Linked DNA regions of Homo sapiens: regions 1 and 2 are each linked to region 3. The links are contacts of gene promoters, found by promoter capture Hi-C in blood cells and fetal thymus (Javierre and others, 2016). All regions are on one chromosome and are shown on one strand. The core of a region is centred on a gene start or on the middle of the fragment in contact, and the rest is flanking DNA. Distances in the headings are between cores, read along the strand shown.

Region 1 (4,029 bases), core at 379-2,878, 230 kb before region 3:
ACGTATAGGAATAGATTGAAATAAAGATTTTTTTCTGAAACAGCACTGGATGAACGCCTCAAGGGGCTCACACAACCTCTGCCAGGACTTGGTGACCATTATTTGTGTCCACATTCAATTTAGTTCAAATTTAATATTTAACTTTCCCTCCACATTTGGCCTCAATTGGATACTCAATTGTAGGAAAATACCCTCTCAGATACATGGAAAAGGCATAATTGATATAGATTACAGATACAGGGTAACACAGGAGAATTAAAAGCACAATTAATAAAAACCACACTCAGCATGGCTTTCCAAGGAGAGTCATATTGTGAGAATTACCAGAGATATACACACAACATTCAGTTTGCAGTAACGTGCAAACCCCTCCTTGGGCTGCGGTAAGCATTTTTAATGCCATTTGATTTTGCAACACAATAGTACGCAGCTGAGCAAATTCATCTGATAACAACACAAGTTCAGTGCTACTATCATTAAGAGCTTTTTCTACATGTAAGGTAAATATTTTAATGTGTTGGTGAAGGAGGAATGTACTGGTGGCAGGGGAGAATACTGTGATAGGGTACCACCACCAGGGAGACCAGCACATTTGTAACCAGTGGTGTTTGTAAGCATCTAGATTACTGGGGAAGGGAATATTATCCCGGATAGTGAATGGAATTAATGTCCACCCTCAAGTGCATCTTCCCATCCAATGCAGGGACAGTATTGCAACCCATAGGATCTGCATACCCAGAGGGCCCCCCAGGGGACAGCAATGGAGCTACTGTAATCATAGTGTACTAATGTGTTATTAAAATAGGAAAGAGATTGTGGTTCATTGGGGGGCAGTGTTGTTGATTTGGAGTATGTGTTGACAAATGTCTGAAGAAACCCCAAAGAAACATTAGAGGAGCCATTTAAGGCCTCCAGAAAAAGCGAAGCCTGTATGGAATCCAGCCACCAGCACAGCAGGTTTTCAGTGTATATTGTTCCAGGATTATTGGGCAAGATATCAAGACTTTTGATGCAAGGTGAGGGTGGAGTTCATCTTTTGTCTGACCTGGCAAAGATAGATTGCTTAGTGTGGTGAAAGGAAGCCCAGGTTGGATTGCAAGTGTTGTTGTTGTTGTGGCCCTACTGGTAACAATATAGCCATTCAGAAATGTTGTCAGGGACGATTCTTCAAGATAGCCCATCCCAGGCAGCCTCCGGCAACTCAACATATAGCCAACATTGACTGTGGATGGCTTCAGTTGCAGCGGTGGCTACCCAGGTGATGAATTTATTCTTGGCTTCAGACACAAAGACACAGGTGCTGACCATTAGTAGATAGGTTATTCCCTGTAATAACAAAAATGGAGTGGAACATGATTTATTTTTCATCTTTAGGAAATTGTACTATGCCTTCATTTCCCGCTTTCATAGCTACAAGGTCACCAGCCTTAGGGTCAAGATGTGATGGACGCTGTATGCATATTTTGGCTCCAGGATTTAAGCTACCTGTACCAGGGGATCTGAATCCCCCAGTTCTGTATGTAGACTCTGTTGGGGCAGAGATTTCCTCAGGAGTTAATTGTTGACAAGGGTACCACTAAAAATTGAGTAACCAGCATCTAGTTTTATAGCAAAAGAATCTGGAGTGTTATTGTATAAAATGACCTTTAACTCTCCCTGGTAATCACTATCAATTACACCACCATACACTATAATGCCTCTCTTTGCAAGGCTTGAACACATTGTAATCTATTCATCCACATTCAAGTTTACTGTTATGGTGGAAATTGTGGCCTGTTTTTCTTCCTGCTGATTAAATAGCCTGTCAAGAGAAAGCAGAGATGCATGGGCATCAACATGGAAAACAGGGCTGCACATGGTGGTGAAGGGGGCCTGCCCCTCCACACCTGTGGGTGTTTCTCACAAGGTGGAGATGAGAGACTGAGAAAAGAAATAAGACACAGAGACAAAGTATAGAGGAAGAAAGGTGGACCCAGGGGACCGGCGCTCAGCATACGGAGGACCCGCACCCGGCACTGGTCTCTAAGTTCCCTCAGTATTTATTGATCACTATCTCTTTCATCTCAGTGAGGGGGATGTGGTACGACTACAGGGTAATGGTGGGGAGAGGGTCAGCAGGAAAACATGTGAGCAAAGGACTTTGTGTCATAAATAAGTTTAAGGAAAGGTGCTGTGCCTTGATGTGCACGTAGGACAGATTTATGTTTGACTTTACACAAACATCTCAGTGTCGTAAAGAGCAGTATTGTCGCCAGCATGTCTCACCTCCAGCCATAAGGTGATTTTCTCCTATCTCAGTAAATAGAATGTATGATCAGGTTTTACACCGAGACATTCCATTCCCAGCGATGAGCAGGAGACAGATACCTTCCTCTTATCTCAACTGCAAAGAGGCCTTCCTCTTTCACTAATCCTCCTCAGCACAGACCCTTTATGGGTGTCGGGCTGGGGGATGGTCAGGTCTTTCCCTTCCCATGAGGCCATATCTCAGGCTGTCTCAGTGGGGGGAAACCTTGGACGATACCCAGGCTTTCTTGGGCATGAGGTCCCTGCGGCTTTCCGCAGTGCATTGTGTCCCTGGGTACGGGAGACTGGAGAATGGCGATGACTTTTACCAAGCATACTGTCTGCAAAGACATTTTTAACAAAGCACATCCTGTACAGCCCTAAATACATTAAATCTTGAGTCAATACAGCACATGTTTCTGCGGGCACAGGGTTGGGGCTGGGGTTACAGATTAACAGTATCTTAAGACAGAAGAATTTTTCTTAGTACAGATCAAAATGGAGTTTCTTATGTCTTCCTTTTTCTACATAGACACAGTAACAGTCTGATCTCTCTTTCTTTCCCCCACATGGTGGCTGACGCCTGTAATCCCAGCACTTTGGGAGGCTGAGGTGGGCGGATCACGAGATCAGGAGATCGAGACCATCCTGGCCAACATGGTGAAACCTTGTTGAAACAGTGATAACAGTGAAACAGTGATAATGGCAGTGTGCAATGGATTGAGATATCTTCCAAGTATTGTTGTCCCCAAACCTCTTTATTCTGAATTAACCATTTGTTTCATTGTCATTGGGGCTTCCAGGTAGAAAGACCATTTGGTACTGACCAAGATTTGGTATACAAGTGAGAAATCCCTCTGCCTTCCTCCTGAATAGCTTGAAGGATGGCTACTAGTTCAGCTAACTCGCTGCTCCCACCCCTTCCTTCATCAGAAATTTTTATGTTTTTAACAGGATTATAAGCCACAGCCTTCCAGCATCAGGTCCCACCAATGTATTTGGCGGATCCGTCTGTAAATCAAGCATGTTTCTGATCCTCTGGGCTTAGTTCTTCAAAGGATTTGCCCCACTGGGTGGGAGTGAGGGGATTTCCTTCCCTACCTGCAGGACTTGCTCCATGATTTCCTGAGCTGGCAGGTTTTGTGCATCCTCATGTAAAAGTGATACCCACTTTGGTTTTGGCTTAGCCTGGTCTTGTATGTACCACGTCCATTTTATGATGCTCCTTCTTGGGCATGCCCTATCTGGTGGGTTTTGGGGGAACTCATGAGCCAAGTCATAATAGGAGTTTCGGGCCTCATAAAGACATCATGGTTGAAGCAGAGGTGTTCTGTTTCCAGCAAAGCCCAATAAGAAGCTAACAATTGCTTCTTGAAAGGGGTATAAGCTTTTCCGGCCTCTGGCAGTTTCTGGGTCCAAAACCTGAAAGGTACCCTCTTCCCACCTTGTTTCTGCCTAAGGCTCCAATTAGCATTTTGATCTAGGACAGTTACTTGCAGTTCTCCTGGCCCATCCTGTATGGGCCATAGATCCAGGGCCAGTTGACCCACTCATTTAGCTTGTTCAGAAGCCATGTTCTCCTTCTTTCCCCAGTGAAAGTCATAGCGTTTTCTAGTGGCTGCATGCAGAGGTTGTAAAATGTTACCCAAGTGGGGAATATGATGTCTCCAGAATCTAAACCAGCCAATAAATGTCTGGGCCTCCTTTTAAGTAGTAGGGTTTGCAAATTCTAATATTTTAGCC
Region 2 (3,779 bases), core at 1,050-3,549, 210 kb before region 3:
GCAACCTCTGCTGTCCAGGTTCAAGTGATTCTCCTGACACAGCCTCCCGAGTAGCTGGGATTACTGGCACATGCCACTGCACCTGGCAAATTTTTGTACTTTTAGTAGAGACGAGGTTTCACCATCTCATCAGGCTGGTCCTGTACTCCTGACCTCGTGATCCACCTGCCTCAGCCTCCCAAAGTGCTGGGATTATGGGCGTGAGCCACCACATCCGGCTGTATAATTTCTATTTCTTTCACTTGTTAAGTGTACGATATTTATTTTCCAATAAAATTACCCTAGAAAACCTTAAGGGGTTTGTTTAAATTGCATATTAGTATATAGTATAAAGTTGACAGGGCAGTGGCTAGAAAATATTTAAATTACAGAAACTGTTGGATTTAAGTTTCTTTTAGGACATTTAGAAGAAACAAATCTGGTAGTACCCCAGTGACATAGAGAACAGAATTCTACATAGGGTCCTCACACTGCCCCAGACTTGTTTACATATATTCTTTTTGAAGGCCTTATTTAGGTCTGACCATACCCTGGAGTCTTGCTCTCAGAACTGATTAGTAGAGATCAAGAGTTTTGGCTGGTGAATCCTGCTGCCTTTCTAGAGCTGGTGCTCACAATTTCCTGAAACCCAAAAGCAGATGAATGGGAAAAATAAAGTATGTATTATAGAGTCTTAGCTTTTAAGTTTTCTATTAAAACCAGTGCTTGCAGAGACATTCTATTTAGCAACTTGTTTTCTATTCCTGCAGATCCAGTAATTGCTCCCCAAGTAACAAAAAAGTAAACATAAACAGAATAAAATTTTCTCTAAACTGCATTAAACTCATCCTTTCTATATCTTTTCTATCTGTCTATATTTAGCTTTTATTTCTTACAACTTTTTAAAAAATTTGATGACAGAGAAACAGAAGAATAAAAATGCTGGGCCCTTTATCTAAATCCTGAAAATTCCTAAACCCTTAGTACTAGCTCCCAGGGTATTATGAGAATTAAATCACATAATGTGTTATGCCCAGCACAGTGCTCTGTATCATACTCTTGAGCACATAGTACTTGCTTAATAAACATTGCAGTAGTACATGTGTACATGTTGTTTTTTAAACCCAGACTTATTCAAACATTGCTGCCTTCTGTTTCCTCTATAAACTTAAAGAGCCAGCAAAGAATATAAAACTTTAGGATGGAGATGGGTTGTCCTTATTTGCACGACAAGTATTTGGTTGTGAGAAGGGTGTTAAGTGTAAGGGACCCTGTGCTCTGCCTGCTTTCTCTAATGCTAATAATGAGCCAAGGGGGAGCAACATCAGCATTGACAGGAGACTTGTTTAAAACACTCTTTCATAAACCCTTTTCAAACCTGCAGAATCACCTTACATAATGTGGGACCAAAATTACCAAGTGATTTATACTTGTGCCCTCCCCACAGCTTCTGTTTATTGTTCTGGGTGGAAGGATCCATGTTGTTTTAATGAAGGGCCTCATGTGACTCTAAGGTGAGGCCAGAATCAAGTATGAAGGCTTCAAAATACATTTTCGAGAGTTAAGTTCCACCTTTGCACTAAAGGGTGGTCACAGGGCCTGTTCTGTTTGGGTTTGGTAGGGACAGGTCAGTGTGGTGCATATTTCCATTACTGTAGCAGAAATTGCTGGAGTCTCTGGCAGGGGAGGGCACCTGAGGACAGGAAAGGAGAAGCTTATATTTTTGTCTTCATGGAGCAGCTCATTATTCCTGAATCTATTCTGTTTAAAAGACAGCAGTAAGTGAATTTTTCTTTTTCTGCCAGTTGATGTCATACTAGCAGGTAAATGTGGTACTGACACCTTTAAAGGCATATTCTCCATATGCAGGTGTAACTTGTCCAGAGAATCTCATCTGAGAAGGAATTCCAGAGGAGGAGGAGAAAGAAAAAAATGGCTTTTCTTCAGGTAAACATGTGTCAGATGAAGAGCTGTGTCCACTCTGCCTCCTGGACTGCCATGCGTTTAGTACTCACAAACCTTTACTTCTCTACTTGTGTTTTTCCTCCCTAAGGAGTTTGGTTTAACTACTTCTTAAAATTCTTATGATAGTCAAGGGTCTCTGGAAAACGTTTCTGTCCTATGTCCCACAGACTTCTCTACATTCTGTACGTCATAGCTTCTTATATGCCATGCAGAATGCTCCGCAAGAATTTATGACCTGCAATATTAAAAATGTTCCCTTTGTGGCTGTTGAACATGGAAAGATGTGGATACTCAAGGTTTCTATTGGGGAAAACTGTGGCCCTTAGTAAAGATGGAGAACATGTAATGTTGAGGCTCCAGCTGTGTGTTCCATTAGCTCTATGCAGAAGAGGATTAAGAAAATGCTGATTTAAATGGAATGGCATTTATTACCCAGAAAGTTCTGAAAAAAATTATTAGGAGATACTTGCTCTCTAGGGTGCTAAATGAAGCCTAATTAAAATTCCTACTAAAAATTACAGAACATAGGAGTTACCTGTATTTTGAAGTTTGCATAAACTGTTGTTTATGGTTAAATTCAGACTAGTTTACTGTTTTGGGGAGGAATATTTCAACAGTGATGCTGTGTTCTTCTGTGTGCAGTAGCACATCATAAAAATTTGTCCTAGTGCAGTTAATGGTTAATGATTCACTTGGTGAAATAGCTGATTGATTTTTTTCACTGTAGAGATAACTATTTTTCTCTTCATAATTATCTTTATGCAGCTGCTCTACACAAGTGATCACATTTAATCTGGCAGTTCTCCTTTTATTTTTTCTACATATTTTTCTTTAGAAAATGAAGGCTCTTATCTTTGTTTACAGGCTAGAAAAACTGGGAAAACACAGGCTCTACCACTTACTGGATCTTTGACAAAATATCCTTATTAGGCCAAAAACGTTAGCATTACTGGTAAGCTTGTTAGAAATTCAAAAAATCAGCGGGGAGCCCTGGCTCATGCCTGTAATCACAGCATTTTGGGAGGCCAAGGCAGGCAGATCACCTGAGGTTGGGAGTTTGAGACCAGCCTGACCAACATGGAGAATACCCTGTCTCTACTAAAAATACAAAAATAGCTGGGCGTGGAGGCACATGCCTGTAATCTCAACTACTCAGGAGGCTGAGGCAGGAGAATTGCTTGAACCCAGGAGGGGGACACTGCCGTGAGCCAAGATGATGCCACTGCACAGAAGCCTGGGCAACAAGCATGAAACTCCGTCTCAAATAAAAAAGAAAAGGAAATAAATACGTAAATCAGACTTACTCCAGATCTTCTTGGAAAAAAAAAAAAACCTGCATAAGGTCTTCAGCTTATTGTACATAATAAATTTGAGAAATGCCTAAGTGAATGTCTTTTCCATCTGAAAAATATTCACAACTCATTCCGTATGATGTAAATATAGCACTCAAAAATGTACATGTTCGTGTTCATGCCCTTAATTTTATACTTTATTATCTAGAAAAATAAAATATATGAACTGTTGTTCTGGATCTTATGGTGCTTTTTTTTTTTTATCATAGTTAGAGAATAATATTTCTGTTTTGAAAATTATTTTATTGGATAATTTTAGTCAGTGCTATAAGTCAGAACCACTTCTCTTTACTCTCTCATTTCACCTTAAGTCAAATTAAAAATTCCACACCTGGCCACTTGGTAAAAATGTGTGTGTTCTTCAGGGACCATTGCAATTTAGAGATGTGGCCATAGAATTATCTCTGGAGGAGTGGCATTGCCTGGACACTGTACAGCGGAAGTTGTATACGAATGTGATGTTAGAGAACTATGGAAATATGG
Region 3 (3,919 bases), core at 1,153-3,652:
GGCTGGAGTGCAGTGGCACAATCATGGCTCACTGCAGCCTCAACCTCCCAGCCCCCAGTGATTCTCCTGCCTCTGCCTCCTGAGTAGCTGGGACTACAGGTGTGCACCACCACACTCAACTAATTGTTTTATTTTTTGTAGAGACAGGGTCTTGGAATGTTGGCCTGGGCTGGTCTCAAACTTCTGGCCTCAAGCGATCCTCGTGCCTCAGCCTCCCAAAGTACTGGGATTACAAGCATGAACCACCATGCCCAGCAAAATTGATAACTTTTGTATTTCAAAGGACACCACCAAAAAAGTGAGAACACCTTTTGGGATCCTTGTGCACTGTTGTTGGGAATGGAAAATGCTATGGCTGCTAGGAAAAAGAGTATGGCCATTCCTTAAATAAATAATAAATACAAAGTAATCATATGATCCAGGAAGTCTGCTTCTGAGCATACCCTAAAAAACTGAAAGCAGCAACCCACATATTTGTTCACCCATGTTCATAGACATATTATTTACCATAGCCAAAGGCAGAAGCAACCTAGGTGTCCAGGAAAGGATAAATAAGGCCGGGCGAGGTGGCTCATGCGGTAATCCCAGCACTTTGGGAGGCCAAGGTGGGCAGATCTCTTGACCCCAGGAGTTTGAGACCAGCCTGGGCAACATGGCGAAACCCCATCTCTGCTAAAATTACAAAAATTAGCTGGGCATAGTGGCACATGCCTGTAACCCCAGCTACTCAGGAGGCTGAGGCACAAGGATTGCTTGAGCCCAGGAGGTGGAGTGCAGTGAGCCGAGATCACGCCATTGCACTCCAGTCTGAGCAACAGAGCAAGACTGTCTCAAAAAAAAAAAAAGAAAGAAAGATAAATAGATCCAGAAAAATCCAGAAATTTGATATCTACATACAATAGAATACAATTCTATTCTATTGTATGTAGATTTAGGAACTGACTAATTTAGGAACTCTTTAAAAAATGTTTAAATAAAGCATTAAAAAGAAGTAAATTGGGGACAGGCGAGGTGGCTCACACCCCCAGCACTTTGGGAGGCCAAAGAGGGCAGATCACCTGAGGTCAGGCGTTCGAGACCAGCCTGGCCAACATGGTGAAACTCTATCTCTACTACAATACAAAAATCAGCCGGGAGTAGTGGTGGGCGCCTGTAATCCTGGCTACTCAGGAAGCTGAGTCAGGAGAATCACTTGAACCTGGGAGGCAGAGGTTGCGGTGGCTGAGCGCCACTGCACTCCAGCCTGGGCAACGAGAGCGAGACTCCATCTCCAAAGGAAAAAAAAAGAAGTAAATTGGCCGGTGGCAGTGGCTCACACCTGTAATCCCAGCACTTTGAGAGGTCGAGGCAGGAGGATTGCTTGAACCTAGGAGTTCGAGACCAGCCTGGGCAACAGAAGGAGACACACATCTCTACCAAAAATTAAAATTAAAATTAAAACAATTAGCCAGGCCTGGTAGTGCGTGCGTGTAGTCCCAGATACTTAGGAGGCTCAGGTTGGAGGCTTGCTTGAATCCAGGAGTTGAAGCCTGCAGTGAGCAATGATCACACCACTGCACTTCAGCCTGGGCTACAGAGCAAAACCCTGTCTCTTAAAAAAAAAAAAAAGAAGAAGAGGCCGGGCGTGGTGGCTCACGCCTGTAATCCCAACGCTTTGGGAGGCCGAGGCCGGCAGATCACGAGGTCAGGAGATCGAGACCATCCTGACTAACACAGTGAAACCCCGTCTCTACTAAAAAAATACAAAAAATTAGCCGGGCGTGGTGGCGGGCGCCTGTATTCCCAGCTACTCGTGAGGCTGAGGCAGGAGAATGGCGTGAACCCGGGAGGCGGAGCTTGCAGTGAGCCGAGATGCGCCACTGCACTCCAGCCTGGGCGACAGAGCGAGACTCCGTCTCAAAAAAAAAAAAAAAAAGAAGAAATAAATCCTAACACATACTACAAGGTGAAGCTCGAGGACATTATGCTAAGTGAAATAAGCACGTCAGGAAAGGACAAATACTTTATGACGCCATTTACATGAGATTCCCACAGTCAAATTCACGAACTCAGACAATGGAATGGAGGTTGCAAAAGACCCTGAGGGAAGGAGGTGCACGGGGAGTTGTGCAACGAGACAGATTTCAGTGTTGCAAGATGAAAACAATTCTGGAAATTGGCTTCACAATGTGAATGTATTTAACAGTACTGAAGAGAACACTTAAAATGGATGGGAGGCAAAGAACACATTCGGTTTAAACGCAAACGTCCTGGCGGGGACAAGCCGGACTGAAGCCAGGCCAGCTCAACCACGCCCCTTCCTGCTCCGCTGTCACTCAGTGATAAAGAGGCGGGGCCATTGGATCTGTCCAATCAGGACCTCAGCTGAAAAGATGTGAGCGGCGCCACGCTGGGCCTGCGCAGTGCGGACGTCGCCATTCCTGGCCCATGGGAAGATTGCGTTTCACCTGCTCCTGAAGGCCGAAGGTGGCTCTAGCGCATCCTTTGTCGCGCCGTGACCTGCAGGTACTGACAGATCCGTAGGGAGGACACCGTGACTTCCCGGACGCTGGGAAATGGTGAGTGTGCGGGGCCAGTGTCCGAGGGGAGGTTTCTGGTTGGAACCGTCTGTGGCCGAGGCCGGGGACCTCCTTGCAGTCAACTCCGGGGTTTGCAGACCCGGGGGCCACCGCGGGCGCAGTTCGGCCCTCGGTCCTCTCTGTGGGAGCTGGACCCGCAGCCGGGAGCCCCAGCGTCCTGTCCCGTCCCCGCGGGGCGACCTCGGCCCCCGGTCCTGGAGCCCTCTATGGGCAGCTCTGCGCCCGCAGCCCCGCGTCTCCCCGGATTGTTCGGTGACAGCGGGAGGGTCCTGGGGAGATCCCATCTCGGTCTGTGGGGTTTGTGCGTTTAAGAAACCACTTGGTTGGAAACCTTACGATGAATCCACGGGTGCGTTTCCTCACTTGTGAGAACCGAAGCCTGGCTAGGTCCTTGCTGCCGGGGTCAGGTTCCTGTGGCTGTTCAAACGCCCCTGCCCTCATCACCAGGGACTGACCCCCTCTAGTGCTCCCAGCACTCAAGTCTGGGGGTGTTTTTGACCTTCTGAATGTGGGCTTTCTTTTCGAACTGCGGGGAAGGGGACTCCTTATCTTAACTGATCAGAAAGTTTGTGTTTCTTCCCTTTGGACTCCTTGATCAAATATTAATTCTAGCCACCCTTAATTCCAGTTTCCCTTCGCTCTGGGTAATTTTGTTCCCTTGCGTGAATGTGTGCGATTTTTAGTTTCTTTGGTTTCTGGATGGAATTAATTGTGAGCTTGTTCAGGTTCTTTTAAATTTTCTTGTTTGTGTGTGTTTATCTGTGTGGTTTCTACCCAAGAGATTTCGCCTATGTTGGAGTGCCATGATGATGCAAAATCTCTGTATGTCATTTGTTCCGTATATAAGTGGTAAGCATTTTTTTTTGTGTGTGACGGAGTCTCGCTCTGTCGCCCGGGATGGAGTGCAGTGGCGCGATCTCCAGCTCACTGCAAGCTCCGCCTCCCAGGTTCAAGCCATTCTGCCTCAGCCTTCCCAGTAGCTGGGACTACAGGCGCCCGCCACCACGCCCAGCTAATTTTTTTGTATTTTTAGTAGAGACGGGGTTTCACCGTGTTAGCCAGGATGGTCTCGATCTCCTGACCTTGTGATCTGCCCGCCTTGGCCTCCCAAAGTGCTGGGATTACAGGCGTGAGCCACCGCGCCCGGCTAAGTGGTAAGCTTTGAGGTGTTTGTGAGAGTGATGTTTATGACACACACCACTTTGATACATTCTGATTGTAAGTGTATGTTGTGATTTTTTCTTTCCTCGTGTGGTTGTAATAGGTCAGTGTGTTTTTCTCTGAGCAATTAACCAGTGGAAGGTTCCTAAGTCTAGAGTCATTGTGGGTAGTTTTGTTGT

The links. The method cuts DNA at HindIII sites, captures the fragments that hold promoters and counts their contacts. A CHiCAGO score of 5 or more calls a contact.
Region 1: a fragment that was not itself captured here is called in contact with the fragment with the promoter of ZNF14 in region 3 in 1 of 17 cell types (naive CD4 T cells); the score reaches 5.5 in naive CD4 T cells.
Region 2: a contact is called between a fragment that was not itself captured here and the fragment with the promoter of ZNF14 in region 3, in 1 of 17 cell types (non-activated CD4 T cells). The highest score is 5.1, in non-activated CD4 T cells.

The regions. Positions count from the first base shown.
Region 1 is chr19:19,960,416-19,964,444 of GRCh38, reverse strand. It overlaps the pseudogene BNIP3P12. Among named protein-coding and RNA genes, the nearest start is that of ZNF93, 61 kb to the right of the region's middle. The HindIII fragment of the contact is 4,095 bases long and covers 1-3,675 here.
Region 2 is chr19:19,937,713-19,941,491 of GRCh38, reverse strand. LOC124904665 (a long non-coding RNA gene) reads left to right here. Exons shown (of 3, transcript XR_007067170.1): 1 at 1-1,757; 2 at 1,830-1,926; 3 at 2,809-2,974. Among named protein-coding and RNA genes, the nearest start is that of ZNF93, 39 kb to the right of the region's middle. The HindIII fragment of the contact is 1,208 bases long and covers 1,696-2,903 here.
Region 3 is chr19:19,731,595-19,735,513 of GRCh38, reverse strand. ZNF14 (zinc finger protein 14) reads left to right here and starts at 2,402. Exons shown (of 4, transcript NM_021030.3): 1 at 2,402-2,558. The coding sequence starts at 2,556. RefSeq lists a silencer at 2,747-2,896. The HindIII fragment of the contact is 5,906 bases long and covers 1-3,740 here.